3 separate regions of the Homo sapiens genome follow, and all the other regions are linked to region 2. The links are contacts of gene promoters, found by promoter capture Hi-C in human tissues and cell types (Jung and others, 2019). All regions are on one chromosome and are shown on one strand. The core of a region is centred on a gene start or on the middle of the fragment in contact, and the rest is flanking DNA. Distances in the headings are between cores, read along the strand shown. Region 1 has its middle 34 kb from the start of IL1RL1. Region 2 holds the start of IL1RL1 (interleukin 1 receptor like 1). Region 3 overlaps IL18R1 (interleukin 18 receptor 1).

Region 1 (2,873 bases), core at 56-2,555, 34 kb before region 2:
ACAAGTCACAGCAAACATCTGTGGCTTGAGCTCTCTGAAGAGGTTTTCAGGAGCTTAGTATTCATACAGTTCCCTAAAGGAGAGAAGGCTATAGGAAGAGGGGAGGGCACGTGTAAAGCAAATGGTTACATTTTTGCGAGACTTTAGTTAGTGCTCAGTAAATCTATATTTTATATAAGGTAAGGTGAATGCCTGAAGAAAAAGGGAGTAAATAAAGACTCAATTATGCACATGTCTCAGGGTAGGTGGAGGAATGATTGATCTCATCTTGTCTTCATTCTGTACCTGGAAGAGAAAATCCTGTACCTGGAAGAGAACAAAGACAAGGTGATGCTCTGGTATCTGGAAGATAAACTTGTAATCCACATTGTCAGTGTGAAATCTAACAGACTTCAGTTTTAGGAGCTAGACTTACATTGCAGACCTAAAGTTACAATTGACATGTCCTTGTTTTATGAGAGGATATACATCTTGAAAAGTTTCAACGCCAGCAAAGAACAATCTGTGAGGGCAGCCATCTGGCCATGCTTGAGGCTTTTTGCCTTTCCATGGGGGGTCTGGCTAATGTACAATGTTTTGATGCCAGTTTGTGCAATAATAGCTACTCACCTGGGAAAAGGATGGAGGTGTTCAGTGACTCCGTGTGCAGGCTTAACTCTCCCTTTAGCATAATGAGTTTGGGGATCTTGAGATTTTTAATTTTTTTTACAGCTCCTTGTCAAATATAACATTCTCCTTCATTGCCCTGACTTAGTTTTATATAAAGTGGTGGAACGCCAAATGTGGTGGCTCATGCATGTCATCCCAGCACTTTGGGAAGCTGAGGCAGGAGGATCGCTTGAGCTCAGGAGTCCAAGACCAGCTGGGCAACATAGGAAGACCCTACCTCTACAGAAAATAAAAAAATTAGCCAGTCATGGTGGTGCATGCCTGTGGTTCCAGTTACTCAGGAGCCTGAGGTGGGAGGATTGCTTGAGCCCAGGAGGTTGAAGGCTGCAGTGAGTGGTGTTCATGCCATTGCATTCCAGCTTGCATGGCAGAGCAAGAAACTGTCTCAAAAAAAAAAATGTGGAACTGTCTCTTTGTTATACTAATACATGTAGAAATATTGAGTATCTTGAATTAAGCAGCTGCTGTGATCATTAAAAAAATGTTAGCTTTTTGGATCTCTGTTGAGATAATGTGTGATTCTAGAGGAGGCGCTGCCTATGGTTGTGGTTCTTCTCAACTTTTCCTGTAAGGTACATGACATGGTTGTCAATGTCAATGCACATCAGCTGAACACCTGTCCTTTTATGTCAGGGTTTCTCACCCCAAAGAAGGTGTCAGGAAACCACTGGTCCTATTCTCCAGTTCCTAGAAAGACCACTTCCTAGGGTGTAATGACTGAAAAATGGGCATAGAAAAAAAATCTACACTCACCTTTTACCTTTTTAAACTTTCAGCTGAGTTTGAATCAATATAGGTGAATTGAATTTCTGACCCATTAATAAGTCTCTGGGACTGACCTCTCTTGTTGAATGCAAGGGTTTCCTCTCATGTCAAAACATGTGAAGTGGGGACAGTCTTGTTGCCTGTTTGCTAGGAGCTGTCCACTCAGGGATGCTGCAGTCATTTTCCCAGTGTTTTCAGCTGGATAGGTCTCTCTGGGGTTGGTGAGGAAGAGTAATCTTGGCTGAAGTTGAATGCTGGTCTGCACATGCTACATGCAAATGAGGAGCCACTGTCAACAGGGATTGCTCCAGTAATCTGACAATAGGTGCAAGACTATGACTGCCGCAGTAGATCTGAAAGGAGCCTGGGAGCACAATGAGCCATTGTAAGAGGGAATTCTCCTCAATGGCATTCCCATTGAATGGCCCTGCAAAATAAATGTGGATTTTTGCCTTTAGGTCAAAATTAGGTCCTTAGATAATAGTACATGTTTCTCCATTAAAAAAAATTTTCACAATTATTATAGATACTACCTGCTTCATCAACCCAGGGAGCTCAGGAGTGTTGCCACTGCTCTTCCCCACCACATGGGTCGTAATGGGAAATGGCCATTGCTGCCACGAGGCACTCATAGCCTTGGAGGTTCTCTCTTTTTGGTTTGCAATTCCAGATGAAGTTTCCATTATCGTTCAATGGACCACAACTGTGCTGGGGACTCTGGTGACCAGTCCACACTCATAATTGAGGGACTTGGGTGGGGTCACCCTCCTGCCTTGTAATGTGCCCTCTCTAACTTGGAACCCCTGGGAACAGTCTCTCTCTACCAAGATACCTCTAGGCTGTGTAGCACACAAGCAGCTTTCACTAAGCCCATCAAAATGAAATGCTCAGTTGTATTCTTCTCTGGGCAAGGAATGTCAACTCACCTAAGAAGGTTTCCGCTGTTGTTTCACAAGCCTCCGGGTAGTTGTTGTACATAGACAGAGCAAGCTTTCTTTCAGAGCTCTCTTTTTTCCTTTTCTTTTCTTTTGTTTTAAATGAACACCATTTCTTCTTTAGTGGCTAATCTAACAGCATTCTTAGAAACAGTGCGTTTCTATTCCCTGGGAAAGGTGACGCATGCCTGTAGTCCCAGCTACTCACGAGGCTGAGGCTGGAGAATCACTTGAACCCGGGAAGTGGAGGTTGCAGTGAGCTTAGATCGTGTCACTGCACTCCAGCCTGGGTGAAAGAGTGAGACTCCATCTCAAAAAACAAACAAACAAACAAACAAATAAATAAATAAATAAATAAATAAGAAAAAAACCCCAGTAAAACAGTGCATATCTTTTGAAATTTCCTTTAGGTTTCTTTTGAGGTTTTTTTTTTTTTTTTGTCTCTACCCAAAAAAATTGCTGACTTACTATGTGATAAGGTCATTCATTCTCTCTATCTGTTCT
Region 2 (2,700 bases), core at 25-2,524:
CCTCAGCCTCCTGAGTAGCTTGGATTAGAGGTGTGCACCATCACACGCAGCAAATTTTTGTATTTTAGTAGAGACGGGGTTTCACCATGTTGGCCAGGATGTTGGGATTACAGGCGTGAGCTACCATGCCCTGCCAGAAGGTTTGTTTTTATTTTAAACACAATTGTGCTGGGTGTGATAGGATGGGTATATGATAGAGCAGAAAATCACTAGTATTTCATCAATATGGATAGCATCCTCCATAGGTTACTGATTTAATATTGACAACAATACCCTTCACACGAGAGAGAGGTTAGAGAATTTGCCCAAAGTCAAGCAGCTGGGAAGAGGAAAACTAGGCTGTGCTCTCCCTAAATCTCATGCTCTATTATATTAGGGAAGACTCTGGCAGATGGCACATCCTGATTATTTGAAAGTCACCAATATTTTTAGAAATTGCATAGATAATTAAGGTTAGTTTATCCAGAATTCTAATAATTGCAGCACATGTCCATAAATCTCTATTACAACCACCTGAGATAGGCCATCTCGGGCATGTGGAAAAAGCCCAGGTATAGACACTTTGGATCCTGGATTTCCCTTGTACTGGCTGCTACCTTGGGTAAGGTAATTCTCCTCTCTGAAGCTCCTGTCAGCTTCTGAGGATTGCGTGGGATAGCACATACCAAATTACTGCACACAGAGCCTGGTGTACACTTAAGCACACGAGATGTGTCAAAGTTTTCAAAAACATTGCCAACGAGGCATCAGTTACAAAACTTGCTGCAGAGTGAGCTGATATTGTGCCACTGCACTCCAGCCTGGGTGACACAGTGAGGCTTTGCCTCAAAAAAAAAAAAAAAAAAAAAAGAAAGAAACACCAAATAAGCAACTTGCTGCAGAAATGGGTACTCTTGTTCTAGAAATGTGACTATAGGGAAGTTACAACTACCAACTCGCGTTAAGGGAAATGAGTGACCTGCCACCTACATGGTGTTAGGGAGGTTTTGCTGAGAAAGTCACTCATGAAGAAGGCAAAATATAGTTAAGACAAAATGTAACTATCTATAGAGATAAGGTAAAAATTGGAAATAGAACTTCATTAAAGATCTTTCAAATAGGGAGAATGTGGTGAAAACTGCAGTTAACATTTGTTAACAGTGTGATCATCGGGTTCAGCTTATCAGTAACCTGGTTCCTGTCTCTTAACTGATAAAGAAAATGGGAGGTTTTTAAAGAGAGGCTGGCTGTTGTATTTAGTAAAGCTATAAAGCTGTAAGAGAAATTGGCTTTCTGAGTTGTGAAACTGTGGGCAGAAAGTTGAGGAAGAAAGAACTCAAGTACAACCCAATGAGGGTAAGTGGCTTTGGGGTATTTTTCAAAAATACTTTTATCTCAAAGGGAACAAAATTTTCACATACGAATTTAGGTCATTATAACAATAATATTCATTGTTATATTATTATAACATTATATGTTATAATAATATATAATATATATAATATATAATTGTTATAACATTATAACAATTATATATTATATATAATACAATTATATAATATATATTATATAATTGTAATATATAATATAATTATATAATATATATTATATAATATAATATATAATATATCATATATGTTATATATTTTATTATATAATATATATTATATATAATATTATATATAATATATATTATATATAATATTATATATAATATATATTATATATAATATATTTATATATATTATATATAATATATATTATATATTAAATATTATATATATAATATATATAACATTATTGTTATAATGTTATAACATTATTATATATTAAATATAATATATATAATATTATATTTATATTGAGGAAAACATTCACTCAATGACAGAGGGAAGACTTAGCTTTCCAAACAATCTTCTGTTAAAAGAAAAACTTTAGCTGAATTAAATTTAAAGGAGTTTAATTGTGTTTTGGTGCCTTATGCAAATGAAGGGCCTATAATATAATATATAATGTAATATATATAACATTATAACAATAATAATCATTGTTATCAATTTTGCTTGTGAGAAAAGTAGTATTACCAATGGGAAAATCATGGTACAGATTGATGAAATCCCTTGAAATCTTGTTTGTGTAATATGGGACTTTGGTCCAACGTGTTGGAAAAGACCTGGTTGAGGGTAAGAAAGGATGGGAGCTTTATAGTATACACACAGAGTGCTCATATTCTGGAGTTATTCTTTCTGAAATCCACAAAATCCAGCAGTGTAATCTACTCAGATGGAGATGAAGGAAAAAAACAAAACAAATGAAGCAAGAAGCTGCTGGCCAAAAGGGGTGAGGAAGCAGGGTCATACCCATCTGCAAGAAGAAAATAGAGAACGGACATGAGAGGGGTGGATATGAGGATATGAGAAGGCCCTCTTGAGTGAGGGCCATTGTTTCTGGAGGGGTGGGGAGTGAATGACTGATGTAAGTTCAAGTTTGTTGCGGGTGCCTGCTTTGATCCTCTGCTTGGTGGCTCCATTCTTCTTCTCTCTGAAGGCTACTTCAACAGAGGGTGCAGAGGTAAACATAGCAGAACTGGCCCCCAAAGCTTTATCCACTGAATGTCAGTTTTTCCTTTAATTTCTTCCAGGCATAAGGAAATCGGAGGCATGTTTCTGTCTGGCTATAACAGTTCTCCTACTAGATCCTGAGGCCAAACTATTCACATGC
Region 3 (2,700 bases), core at 20-2,519, 48 kb after region 2:
GATTTATATTGAGGCATCTACATTGATTCATGTGTGTCCTTGTGAATAGCTGTAATCTGAGGCTGGCCATTTCACTTCCTCAAATCTCAGGTTCCTCATTAGAAAGAGCTTTGAAATGGCTCTTTCCCTGTACATTATGTGTTTCTGTGAATTACTTTTAGAGAAAGGTCAGTTTCTCAGGGTGGGACCCATAAACAAGGGCAACTGGGCAGAGCCAGGGGTTCAGGTGACTGTTTGGACCCTCTGGAAGGGCTTTTTACTGTGCTGCCTTGGGAGACAGAGTGGTCAGCTTGGAACTGACCTTAAGCCTAGGTCACCCAATTTTTGAAGGAAACTTTTTTTTTTCATTTAGAGAAAACTTCATGCCTTTGGGTGATTAGGTAAGTTTGTGACTATTCGTTATGTGTGTGTACACACACGTACGTACATATGTACATGCACAAATATTTAATATGTCTTAGACACACCAAATATATGCATTTAAGATGTATTAAATGTACTTTCCTGAGAATACAAATAAGTGCCCTACGTCGGCGGCTCTCTTCCTGACTGTATGTTAGAGTCACCTGCGGAGTTCTGAGGACTCAAGATGCCCAGTCTGTCCTCCAGACCACTGGGTGGAGCCCGGGCATCATTATTTTTTTCCAAACTTGGGTGAGAGCTGGTGGCCTAGACTTCACATTAGTTGCTAAAACATACTTTCCAAGATATCATGCGTTAAAAAGCATTTCAAAAGTAGATTGTGCAGATGTGCCAATGGATCAGATGATCACCTAGATTCAAAATTATGTATATTTTATGGATGTAATTCATTCAATAATTCAGCAAATAACAAAGAAACAAGCAGACATAAAGTGAAAATATGACAGTTAGTGATAAGTGCTATGAATAGAAAAACTAAACATGGGAGGGTAGAGGAACATTGGTGTGTGTGAGCATGTGTGTGTGTGTGCGTGTGTGTGCATGTGCATGTTTGCATTTGGAAAAGCATGCTGTGCTAGACTTGCAGTAGAGTGCTCAGGGAGGACCTGTACATTATAAGCTAGTGTCAGCAAACCGTAGGGGAAATACAGGATTATTTAATTAACAATAGAGAAGTAATTAGTAGGTATTTGAGGAAAGTAAGTTTAGTTACTCCCTATCTTCATGTCAATCAAGAAAATTAATTGTTGGTGGATGAAAAAAGTTAAATATAAAAACAAAACAAAACAATACTGAGCCATAAAAATGAAGAAACTATGTAAGCATCTATTTGACCACCAACAGGAAAGGATATTCTACACTTAAAAGCAATGAAAACATCTCAAAGCAAAAGAATGATCGGTTTGACTACATCAATATAAAATTTGTCATATATTAGCATAACAAAAGAGAGAAAGTAAACAACAAGTTAGACAAACATCTGAGAACTGGACAAAAGACATAAAGAGATGGTTCATAAACATGAAAATAAAATGGCTGATAATAAGTGATTAATATTTGCCTCATTTATACCCAAAGAAATGCAAATTCAGAAAACAATGAGATACCATTTTTCCATTTTGGCTGTCTAATTACATTTTAAAAGTAAAGCTGCTCAGTGTGCTTCTGGGTGTGGTCGATAGATGCTGTCTTGTGCTATTGAGTGAGAGAATATGAATATTGCAACACTTCTGGAATGCAGTTTGTCAGCATGCATCTGTCAGGTTTCAATGTAGTCTTCAACTCAATCACTGTACTGCCATCGAGTAACATCCAGGAAATAATAAGAAATGTAGACAAATAATAATAGCTAACATTTAAGCGGTATTACCATTCACCAGACACTTGCAATAGTAACTCATTTAACTTTCACATCAGTTCCAGGAGATGGTATTATTATCCCCTTCTATAGATAAGAAAATTGAGGCACAGAACAGGCAAGTCAGTTGCCCACAGTCGGTTAGCTGGTTGAAGGTAGAATGGAGATTCAAATCCACCCAGGCTGCCACCTGAGCCCATCCTGCAAAAAAACTGAGCCATCCTGGCTTACCTGTGAAGATGGTCATGTGATTATCTCATAATACATCTGGTAAATGATAATATATCCACATGAAGTAATATTAGGTGGCAATTAGAATGGTTTTAACAAAGAGTTTTGTGACACAGGAAAAATGCTCATTATGTAATATTAGGTGGAAATGCAGGATATGCAATCTTTTAAACATCTTTTATTTTTTGAGAAGGAGTCTTGCTCTGTCACCTAGGCTGGAGTGCAGTGATGAGATCTCGGCTCACTGCAAGCTCCGCCTCCCGGATTCACACCATTCTCCTGCCTCATCCTCCTTAGTAGCTGGGACTACAGGTGCCTGCCAACGTGCCTGGCTAATTTTTTGTATTTTTAGTAGAGACGGGGTTTCACCATGTTAGTCAGGATGGTCTCAGTCTCCTGACCTCATGATCCGCCCATCTCGGCCTCCCAAAGTGCTGGGATTACAGGCATGAGCCACTGTGCCCGGCCAAACATCTTAATTATGTGACAACATTTATAAAAAGTACAAGAAAACATGTTAAAATATTATACATGTTGAGATTATTTTCTTCTTTCAGTCTTCATTTTGTAAATCTCCTACATTGAGTGTAAATTGCTTTGGAAATCAGAAAAACTTTAAAAAGAAAGAAACTTAAGAGTTACGGAAAAGCAAAAATATTGATGTTAAACATAACAATTAAAAACCCTTA

The links. The method cuts DNA at HindIII sites, captures the fragments that hold promoters and counts their contacts. A contact is called where the count stands out against the background at its distance.
Region 1: a fragment that was not itself captured here is called in contact with the fragment with the promoter of IL1RL1 in region 2 in 2 of the 25 tissues and cell types used here (spleen and stomach).
Region 3: a fragment that was not itself captured here is called in contact with the fragment with the promoter of IL1RL1 in region 2 in 1 of the 25 tissues and cell types used here (neural progenitor cells).

Annotation. Positions count from the first base shown.
Region 1 is chr2:102,275,769-102,278,641 of GRCh38, forward strand. No RefSeq gene overlaps it. Among named protein-coding and RNA genes, the nearest start is that of IL1RL1, 34 kb to the right of the region's middle. The HindIII fragment of the contact is 5,826 bases long and covers 1-2,873 here.
Region 2 is chr2:102,310,289-102,312,988 of GRCh38, forward strand. IL1RL1 (interleukin 1 receptor like 1) reads left to right here and starts at 1,275. Exons shown (of 11, transcript NM_016232.5): 1 at 1,275-1,335. The HindIII fragment of the contact is 14,312 bases long and covers 1-2,700 here.
Region 3 is chr2:102,358,084-102,360,783 of GRCh38, forward strand. The region is part of intron 1 of IL18R1 (interleukin 18 receptor 1); the gene reads left to right. Among named protein-coding and RNA genes, the nearest start is that of IL18R1, 3.6 kb to the left of the region's middle. The HindIII fragment of the contact is 5,320 bases long and covers 1-2,700 here.